Linked DNA regions of Homo sapiens: regions 2 and 3 are each linked to region 1. Evidence: promoter capture Hi-C in 16 types of primary human blood cells and fetal thymus (Javierre and others, 2016). All regions are on one chromosome and are shown on one strand. Each heading gives the region's core, a stretch centred on a gene start or on the middle of the fragment in contact. The rest is flanking DNA. Distances are from core to core; before and after follow the strand shown.

Region 1 (3,679 bases), core at 935-3,434:
ACCATGGCAACATTTAGAAGTTACCCTATATGTTCTAAAAGGAAGAATTCCTAGAAAACTCATGAATAATCCACCCTTATTTAGTATATGATCAAGAAATAACCATAAAAATAGCCAACCAGCAGCCCTAGAGGCTGCCCTGCCCATGGAATTGCCATTCTTTTATTCCTTTACTTTCTCAATAAGCTTGCTTCTTTCACTTTACTCTGTGGACTCACCCTGGCCCCGAATTCTTTCTTGCACAAGATCCAAGAACATTCTCTTGGGGTCTGGATTGGGACCCTTTTCCGGTAACAAAACTAAAACTAAGTTGTTAATCTACCTTCAGAGAGAGAGAATAGCAACTTCCTAACCAGGCCAGTTTCAGTCTTCAGTCTGAGGCAGCAAAATAGGGTCTGGAGGCAGGGAACATAAGGCCGATTCACACTTTAGCTATGACAGGAAATAGCCTCTGCGTAGGCCAAGTAAATGACTTTGTAACTTTGCATCATCCCTTTCATTTACATAGTGTGTGCCCCAAGCGGAGGACATTGAAACTCCCCAAAATTCTGGAATGGGGCCTTTGAGCCCCTACGCTCAGGCCCGCTCCCACACTGTGGAGTGTACTTTCATTTACCTTTTTTTTTTGAGATGGCGTCTCACTGTGTCACCAAGGCTGGAATGCAGTGGCATGATCTCAGCTCACTGCAACCTCTGCCACCCAGGTTCAAGTGGTTCTCCTGCCTCAGCCTCCCAAGTAGCTGGAATTACAGGCACCTGCCACTGTGACCGGCTAGGTTTTTTTTTTTGTTTTTTTTTTTTTTTTACTTTTAGTAGAGACGGGGTTTCACCATCTTGGTTAGGCTGGTCTTGAACTCCTGACTTTGTAATCCACCCGCCTCGGCCTCCCAAAGTGCTGGGATTACAGGTGTGAGCCACTGCGCCTGGCCGTACTTTCATTTTCAATAAAACCCTTAATTCCTTCCTTGATTTGTTTGTGTGTTTCACTCTTGTCACCCAGTATGGAGTGCAATGGCGCGATCTCGGCTCACTGCATCCTTCGCTGGGTTCAAGCAATTCTCCTGCCTCGGCCTGCCTAGTACCTGGGATTACAGGCACGCGACACCACGTCCAGCTAATTTTTTGTATTTTTAGTAGTGACGGGGTTTCACCATGTTGGGCAGGCTGGTCTCGAACTCCTGACCTCAGGTGATCCATCCGCCTCGGCCTTCCAAAGTGCTGGGATTACAGGCGTGAGCCACCACTCCCGGCCCAACCCCATGTTTTCTCAGGAACTGGAGTTCCCTTTAGGAAGCAAGTAACAGAGGTGCTGGGCTGCCCGGGCCTCTAGGTCGTCTTCTTTCCCAGGCTCTGTGCTCTCACCAGAGTGCGCGTTCGGGAAGCAGGGAGAGGACCAGGAAAGACGCCTGAGACGGAGAGTGGGCACCGGCCGGGGGCAGGCAGGTCCGGCCCCTGGGGGTCAGAGTGCAGCGCCGGTTTGAGGCAGTTCGGCCACTTAGCTGCGACTCGAAGTGAATGAGTCACTTCCCCTCCTCGGGCGAGCTCCTGGCTTTGCCCCAGCAAGCGGGAACTCCCAGGATCAGGAAGGTCCCAGAGAAACTCCCCAGGGGGGAAGCCGAGGCCGTCCAGAGAGATCCAGGGTACACACAGTGACAGTGCCAGCTCCACATTCCCGACCACCGGGCCAGGGCTGGTTCCACGCTGTCATTTCTCTCCGCTGGCCCCAGCCGCGGGGCCACCGCCAGACAGACAGACCGGGGATCCTGCCTGGCGGCGTGACCTTGGGTTAGTCCTAGAGCCGCTTCTAGCCCGGTTTCCTCCGCCCCAGGTTAGGACCACGTGGGTAAGAAGATTTCCTCTGTAGTAGGGGCTGTTTAATGAGTAACAGAACTGGCTGCTGGTTCTTTACAATTGCCCAGCTGCTCTGCAGAGGCGAGAAGCAATTGCGGGCTGAGCCTCCCGGGACCTTCGCGGGAGGGTGGAGAGGAGGAAGGCGGGGGAGGCGGGGCCAGAGGGGCAGAGGAAGGTGGGGGCGGGCGGGGCTTGTCTGCGGGATGGCCCAGGATGCGGTCAGCTGAGTTCGCCGGCCCAGGGCAGGCGGGGCCCGAGCCTAGCGGTAACCCCCGGGCAGGGCGGGGCCGCTCGCAGACTCCATATGAGATTCACCTCGCAGGTGGTTCCCTCATTCGAGTGCTCCGGCGCACAGACCCGCGCCCCGCCGTCTGCGAGCCTCCCGAGAGCCGTCCCTTCGTCCGGCCCTGGAGCATTGCGTTTGTCGCCGGTGTCGCAGTGCGAGGATGGCGCCGCGGGTGTAGCGGCTCTCTGCGCAGGCCGAGTGGTGAGTCGCCCGCGGCCCGGCTCCCGCCGTTCTCTCTTCCCAGGGGTCTAGCCCGTCCCCTGCCTTGGCCACGTGCCCATTTACCTGTAGGGGCGGTGACGGAGGCTCTGGTGCACCTTGGCTGTGAGCTGCAGAGGAGCAGAGAGCGGCCCGGCGCGGCTGCGCGGGGAGGCGGGCGCGCGGCCGGGAGGTTCTGGGGCTGGTGTGTGCGGAGCGAGGTGGGCGTGGGGGAAGCGCGCGGGCGGGATGTGCTTCCTCGGGTCCACCCCGTGCCTACCTCTCCCACGTCCCGGCGACGGAGCGCGCGGGGCTCTGGGCGGGGAGCCCACCGGGCCGAGGCGCAGCGAGGGTGAAGCCAGAGCCGGCAGGGTCAGGTCCCGCAGGGCGCAGGCGGGCGCTTCTCGCAGCCCAAACCCGGGCGGGGAGTGCGGGAACCCCTAGAACTATGCTGGGAGCCCCAGATAAGAGGAAGGAGATGGTGACTTAAGTGACGAAGTGATGTTTTGTCCCCACCGCCTTTTAAAGGGAGAAGGGGGTAAAATTTCATTTGGAGGATGATTGTTACGCGAGCTTTCAGAGTTCAGATGGCGTCAAGTGGCCATCGAGTCAACATTTAACAAAATGTTACCGCATAAAATATTGTCATCGAGTTATCTGGCAGCTCCGCAGAGAAACTTCACAGGCATATGCGTTATATGACATAATTTGCATGGGGAAGGGGGTCCCTTCACGATTCTTTTATATGGCAACCTGTTCTTGGACCTGGCAGGGCCCAGAGAAGCGAGGAACTCCGCAGCTCGTCGACACGTCTCGTCTCCTGTCCCAATTCAGGGCTTGGTGAGGTGACTCGCGGTCGCGGGTGACTCGCCGGCAGGACACTGCCTGGAACGCCTGGAGCGCCTCCCACTGCAGACGTCTGTCCGCCTCCAGCCGCTCTCCTCTGACGGTCAGTTTCAAAGAAACACAGTCTGGGATCCGGAGTAGAAAGAGGCCGTTTCCCGTGAAGGCCATAGAGGCAGTTTCCAGGCGCCTGGGTGACCTGTCTCTGCACTTCCCTCTCTGCTTCTCCATCCCTGTTTCCTTTCCCCACTGTCCCCTGCCTGGCCTTTCTTTGGCTCATTTTCTGCCTTCCTGGGGTCTTCTGGTTAAAAAGACCATTGGTTCCATTCATTGGCTGTAACCGCGGGTCTTTAAAAAACTTTGTGACTTCCTTGAATAGAAAGAATGTCTTACTCTGGATTTCTACAAGCGCTGCTGAGCCATTCCCAGGGCAGGCCTTTGTCTCTCCCGCCTTTCAGTTTGTTTGCCCATCTGCATTTTGGCCCAAGCTTTCCCCATTTC
Region 2 (3,253 bases), core at 254-2,753, 5.2 Mb before region 1:
CCAGCAGCCTCCGACCAAGGAAGCTCCAGGAATCCCGGGTCGGCCTGGCAAATGACTTTGCAAAGCCGCATTTCCAACTCCATTCCCTACTGGACCCTCCAGAAGCACCAATGCCGACGTCAGGATGGGAAAAACTAAATCGACAGAGTACCAGCAACCTCGACTACGCTGAAGACCTCGAGGGCCCCTTCCATACCTGAATGTAGTCAGCGAAAAGCTGTACCCGCGCTCCGCCATCTTTACCCGAAGAGCCAAAGCACAGCCGCACACATGCGCACTGTGGCCGATTTCCTTTCATTTCCCCGCCCCTCACCTTTCCTTTACTCTCTATGATTGGAGGAGAGTCAGAGCTGCTCCAAGAGCATGCGGGGTGTTGTAGTTCTAAGAAGCGAGGCTTGCCCGATTCTGTGCCTGTGCGCATGCTGAAAGCAGGGGCGGGACCGGGGCGGTCTTCCAGCAGGGAAAATGGCGCTGGCCATGCTGGTCTTGGTGGTTTCGCCGTGGTCTGCGGCCCGGGGAGTGCTTCGAAACTACTGGGAGCGACTGCTACGGAAGCTTCCGCAGAGCCGGCCGGGCTTTCCCAGTCCTCCGTGGGGTAGGTAAAGAAGGGCTCCGTGGGAGAGGGGGCTGATGACGGGACCTCGGGCAGCGTAGCAGACGCAGCTTACACAGTTCGCCCTCAGCCCCGGTTCTGATCCGCGGCCTCATGTCGGGGACGTAGTTCGTGACATTCCCATATTAGCGAGAACAGAACGACTGTTTTTGCGCTCCCTCCACCGCAAAAAAAAAAAAAAAAAAATTCCTCTGCTTGTTCCATTCGTACACAGAATGTAACCCAAGCTTGTGTCAAAGATAAATCATAGCCAGCCAGTAAGTAAAGCGCTGAAAACAGATTTTATTCAGTAACTACTGCAGGTAAAGAGCTGAGCTCCATCCCGGTTTGTGCAGAGGTGACTTTGGGCGTTTTAAAGGGAGAATGAGCGAGGCGGGAGTGTAGGGGCTCTGTAGAGTCAGAGAAGTGTAGTATAGTGAAGTCAGTGCAAATGTGATTAGCCGGCTGTGTCTGCTAGCTCGCAGTTGTCTTAGGGAGAATTCTATCCTCCCGCAGAGACTGGGAGACAAAGGCCCTATCCTTCCTAATGATTAGATTTCGAAGGAATGGCTCTCAGGGCCTTGAAAGAAAAGCTTCCGAGTTAGTTGCAAGGGATACGTATTTACAATTATATGCCCTTTCCAGGAAATGCTCTAAGGGAGTTCGGGACCTACTATCGGGGTATGTTGGCCAAAATAAATAGGAAATTTTCCAGGCAGCGTTGAGCTTTCTCAGGCAGGCACTTTAAAGGGGGGGCCGAGGTCATCCTAGGATACAGCCTTATGCTGCTAGAAACTATGCTAGAGTTTGGTCAAGTCTGTGGAGTTCAGGGATTTGTACAGAGTTGTCCTGAGAGGACAGTTCTGCAGGTCTCACTTGGCATCAAGGCTCACCACTCTCTGGATCTGTCTTTCCTTTCCAGCCCTGCCCTCACCTCCCCTCCCGCTTCCCCTCTCCCCCCTCTCCTCTTCCCTTCCCTTCCCTCCCTTCTTTCCTCCCTTCCTCCCTCCCTCCCGCGCAGTACATGTTTTCTGTGGTGTTTGAGCTCTGAGGAGCTGAATTCTGTTTCCCATGTTTCACTTGGAATTAATTTTAATTGGAAGTATCTTGGATGTTGAAACTGTCATGGCTTTGGCATTTACATTCTACTCAATTTCTAAGCAGCCTGAAAGTGATAATATCCAGAAATATACCAAGAAAATATATGCCACTATATGCCAAGCAATGTGCCAAGCTTTCTACATGTACTTCCTGGGATAATCTTGACAACAGTCCCATTAGGTGTATACACTTTCCAACTGAAACAGTAGGCTCACAATGGTCCCAAGTTCACAGACAGTCCTGAGCCTGTGTTGTTAATCACCGGGGCATGCTTGGCAATACTTGTGGACATACTGAAAATAAATGCCAGTTGTTAAGTGTTAGAGAACTTTGTGTATTTTTAAGAGTTCTTAAGATCAAAAGAAGTATGTGGGCTGGGCGCGGTGGCTCACACCTGTAATCTCAGCACTTTGGGAGGCCAAGGTGGGTCCATCACCTAAGGTCAGGAGTTCAAGACCAGCCTGGCCAACATTGTGAAACCCTGTCTCTACTAAAAATACAAAATTAACCAGGCGTGGTGGTGCACACCTGTAATCCCAGCTACTTGGGAGGCTGAGGCAGGAGAATCACTTGAACCAGGGAGGCGGAGGTTGCAGTGAGCCGAGGTCACGCCACTGCACTCTAGCCTGAGTGACAGAGTGAGACTCAGTCTCAAAAAAAAAAAAAAAAAGTATGGCACGTCTAAGAAATAGCAAGGAAAGGGTAAAGGAATGTTGATTTTATAAGCAATTCAGAAAAAGAGAAACTTTGATAGTCACATAAATAAGGCCATACAGAGAAATGGTGAGCTGGCTCTTTTCTTTAGAGAGCAGACAGGAATCAAGATTAAATGTTATGAGGAACTAAGTGACTTAAGAGGTTGTATCATAAAGGACCTGACTCAGTTTGAATATAAGAAAAGGCAATTGGCAGTTACATCAGTGCCGGTCAGAAGTGTATTCAGGAAATCTGTCTAGATTTACTTGTAAATTAATCAGGTACTTACTACCCGCCAAGTATTAATAGAATGTGGACAGTTGAGTGATTCTTTGCTTGTTTTGTTCAAGTTAGGTGCCTATCAGAGTCCTGTATTTTATGAGATAAGAAACTTGATGGAATTTCACTGATCTTCTTTTCAGCAGGATCCGCTAAGAAAAAATTCTGTGTTCCTTAAAATTGTATAAGCTTTAGTGTATTTTAATAGCTAAGGTTTCTCATTATTGAGTTTCACATTCTAAATTTTATATATAGTTTTTGTGTGTGTGTATGTTTGACCATTGATTGTTAAGGAAAATGATATCTGTAAATAGTAATTTAGAAGCTAGAAACTAATTCTGTATCTCTTATGTTTTATTTCCTAGGACCAGCATTAGCAGTACAGGGCCCAGCCATGTTTACAGAGCCAGCAAATGATACCAGTGGAAGTAAAGAGAATTCCAGCCTTTTGGACAGTATCTTTTGGATGGCAGCTCCCAAAAATAGACGCACCATTGAAGTTAACCGGTGTAGGAGAAGAAATCCGCAGAAGCTTATTAAAGTTAAGGTAATGCATTGATTTTTGTGGGTGTGCTTTTCCTCAAG
Region 3 (3,246 bases), core at 241-2,740, 7.5 Mb after region 1:
GCCCTTCAAACAAATACTAAGTAGATTTCAAAAGTGTAACCAACCAAACCTCTAGAAAGAGAATGCAGTGACAATATCTAGAAAACAATGCACACAACAAAAAGCCCCAGGGAGGTGCATATGCTTAGGGCCTCATTACTCTCGGGATTCAACTGAAGTGTAGTCAGTTTTAAAACCTTTTTTTTTCCTTTTAGTTTCTAAGGAGTTACTGTGTGAAGGCCACTGAGAATAACTTCAGCAGGGCTACTAGGAGACAGCTTAGTACTTTCACTCTTCCTGTAAGGATTGTTTGCAGGACCTCACTTCAGCCAGCTGGCGGAACAAAGGCATAGAACCTTAGCATTTTATGAACCAAAAAGGCCTCTGAGGTTCCCTACTCTTAGCCACCCTTAGAATCTGCCACATTCGTGGCCTGGGTCCCTGGATCATAACCAGCTGGCACAGAGCAACAGGGGAGAGGGAGATAAAATCAGGGCCCTCACTGGCTGTGCATGTAATTCACAGGAAACTCTGAGTTAATAGAAAAGAAAGGTCAGTCCAGTAATGAGCTTCCAAGAAGCCTCCCTAGGAGAGGGATGGTGCTGTCAGCTGCTGCCGGTTCCTCCCTGAAGCCCTACCTGGGCTTCAGGAGGGGAACACAACCAGGGTTTCTCAGGAGAGTCCTGGTGATGCCCACTGTCCAGGCACAGCTCTTAACAACATCCTATTTCACTCTTCAAAGTGCCACCGTTTGTAGGCTAAATCACATGGTCTTTCTAAGGAAGGGTGACTGAGTTTCTAAGGGGAATACACTTTCCAGGGCCACCACTGCCCTCGCGATGTAGAGCATGCAAATTCCTAACATGTTCCTGTGTGCGCAGACGGCAGAGGAAGCAGAGCATCGAGGTGGGGTACACACTGGAACCAGACTGCCTGGGTTAGCATCTTAAGCCCTCACACTTAACAGCAGTGTTAAGTGTTCACTTCCCATTTGAAACAAAAATGAAGATAAAAGTAATTGCTAGCAGGATTAATGAGATAACGTGTAACATTTATAGAACAGTGCCTGGCAGTTACCCTGGAGCACTCTATGAATGTTTAGTAAGCAAACATAAATATGCAGTTCTATGTCTAACAGGTAAGTAAATTTCTACAAAGGGATGGTGAGGCAGGGGAGGAAAGCACTTCTCAAAACAGTCTTTGGATTGCCCTTCCTACTCAAGGACCTCTCACTAACACAGAAACCCCTGCGCATGTGAGATTCTGGATGGTGCTAGATAGGGCCAGGGTGCTGGGGGTGGGAACAGAGTCACCACTGCCACAAGGCCACCCCTTAATTTCAGGTGGTTTATGATCAACCACGTGGCAAATTTATACACTGAAACCAGCTCAGGCAGAACAAAGGAACAAAGACAAATTTCCCAGGTTGCAGCCGGCAGTCAGAAGCCAGAAGCCACCAAATAGCTCCCTGGGTTGCTTTTATGCACTCAACCTGAAGAGAGCCATTTGCCATGGCACATGCTCCACACCTACGACTGCACATCCATGTATGTGATTCAGGACTTCAGAAGCATCACAGGTATTCATCAGAGCACCCCACCAGAGATGAAAAAATCTCAAATATAAATCTCATACATAAAATTTCATGTGATAAATGATGAAGAAATCTCCTTAACTCCTCAGAGAGACGCCTCTCCAGCACAAAGTGGTGGTACTTAGGATAATCATCATGTCAAAGTGGGTGACATCACACTGTCCCCTCTGAAACAATCATCTAATATTTGACTGTGAAAGTATCATCTTAGGCATTTAGGTTTCAGTTTTACATCACACTTCTGCCTTTAAGGTCGTTTCAACTTTGCAGACATGATCTGAACTCCTATTAAGAGGATACATTCCTATGCAACGAAACAGCTATTTTGGAAAGAATGGAGTCACTGAGGCCGTCTAGGCTACATATAGGGCACAGAACCACTCAGACAGAAGGCTTGGGAGACATGGGTGGCACAAACTAGAATGAAAGAAACGCTAAATAATTTCATCAAGTGCCGATTAAAAAAGATTGCAGGGCCGGGCGCGGTGGCTCACCTTGTAATCCTAGCACTTTGGGAGGCCGAGGCGGGCGGATCACCTGAGGTCAGGAGTTCGAGACCAGCCTGACCAACATGACGAAACCCCGACTCTACTAAAAATGCAAAAATTAGCCGGGCATAGTGGTGGGCGCCTGTAGTCCCCGCTACTGGGGAGGCTGAAGCAGGAGAATAGCTTGAACCCAGGAGGCGGAGATTGCAGTGAGCCAAGATCGCGCCACAGCACTCAAGCCTGGGCCACAGAACGAGACTCCATCTCAAAACTAAAGAAATAAATAAATAAAAATAAAAAATAAAGATTGCAAGTATAGGTACACACATTAAGGTACAAGCACATCTGTTTTCATGCGATTACTGGTCTCTGATTCACTTCTTTGTTCTCTATGGTGAGTCACTCAGAGAATGTGATTCCTAAGGTTCTAAAATTCTGAATAAATGGAAAGAATGCAAGCAGAGGCACTCCACAAAAACATTAAATACCAAGCTACGGGGATATTTCCGAACAGAAACAGGAAGTCTCGGCTATGGCAGAGCCTGGAGCAAGGAGAAATTTGTCCACCAGCCTTCCTTTCAGGAAACACTTTTCCTCCAACATTTTGTAATAATTACTTTTTAATAAAGGGCGAAGACAAACTAGTAATTTCCAGCACCAATCACTAACTATTAAGGAAGATAGTTTCACAACTTCCTAAAACAGAGGCATGGGATTCATTACCTATTTCTTTTGACTTCATTAATTTAACGCAAATTTCCTTCAGAATAATGAAACTAAGGAGAAAGTTGAACAAGCCCTGATTCAGACTGGACACCCCAGAATTCCTCTAGTTCGCATTTTAAGGAACCTGCTTTAGTGAGAAGTATGTGGCCCCATCCGAGGATGCAATTTCACAGCCAGGAGCAGCCGCGGTCCCCGCCAGGGATGCGGTCACGGGCGCTCGCACCCGGAAGCCGCTCAACAAGTTCCCCGCCGGCTTCGGCTCCGCACCCCCACCCAGCCAGGCTCTCCGCAGAATTTCCTCCCCGCACCTAAAGGCTGCACTTCATTTTCACACGCGGGAACGCCTCCTCCCGCTGCTCACCTCCACAACTCCCGGCACTCCCGCGACACTTCCCCACAGTCCCCTCCGCCCGCTCCCCTCACCCCGGCTCGGCACCCATCCTTTCCTAACCCCAAACT

The links. Contacts are between HindIII fragments. The CHiCAGO score rates a contact against its expected background, and 5 or more counts as called.
Region 2: a fragment that was not itself captured here is called in contact with the fragment with the promoter of UPP1 in region 1 in 1 of 17 cell types (non-activated CD4 T cells); the score reaches 5.6 in non-activated CD4 T cells.
Region 3: a fragment that was not itself captured here is called in contact with the fragment with the promoter of UPP1 in region 1 in 2 of 17 cell types (non-activated CD4 T cells and naive CD8 T cells); the score reaches 9.8 in non-activated CD4 T cells.

The regions. Positions count from the first base shown.
Region 1 is chr7:48,087,081-48,090,759 of GRCh38, forward strand. UPP1 (uridine phosphorylase 1) reads left to right here and starts at 2,185. Exons shown (of 9, transcript NM_003364.4): 1 at 2,185-2,338; 2 at 3,108-3,284. RefSeq lists enhancers at 1,188-1,717, 1,530-1,739, 2,250-2,779 and silencers at 1,880-2,219, 2,560-2,749. The HindIII fragment of the contact is 3,480 bases long and covers 185-3,664 here.
Region 2 is chr7:42,931,922-42,935,174 of GRCh38, forward strand. MRPL32 (mitochondrial ribosomal protein L32) reads left to right here and starts at 455. Exons shown (of 3, transcript NM_031903.3): 1 at 455-595; 2 at 3,034-3,215. The coding sequence starts at 466. PSMA2 (proteasome 20S subunit alpha 2) reads right to left here and starts at 253. Exons shown (of 8, transcript NM_002787.5): 1 at 197-253. The coding sequence starts at 237. RefSeq lists an enhancer at 404-633. The HindIII fragment of the contact is 641 bases long and covers 1,184-1,824 here.
Region 3 is chr7:55,568,614-55,571,859 of GRCh38, forward strand. The region is part of intron 1 of VOPP1 (VOPP1 WW domain binding protein); the gene reads right to left. Among named protein-coding and RNA genes, the nearest start is that of VOPP1, 2.3 kb to the right of the region's middle. RefSeq lists silencers at 66-115, 263-557, 3,143-3,246 and an enhancer at 2,883-2,942. The HindIII fragment of the contact is 5,325 bases long and covers 1-3,246 here.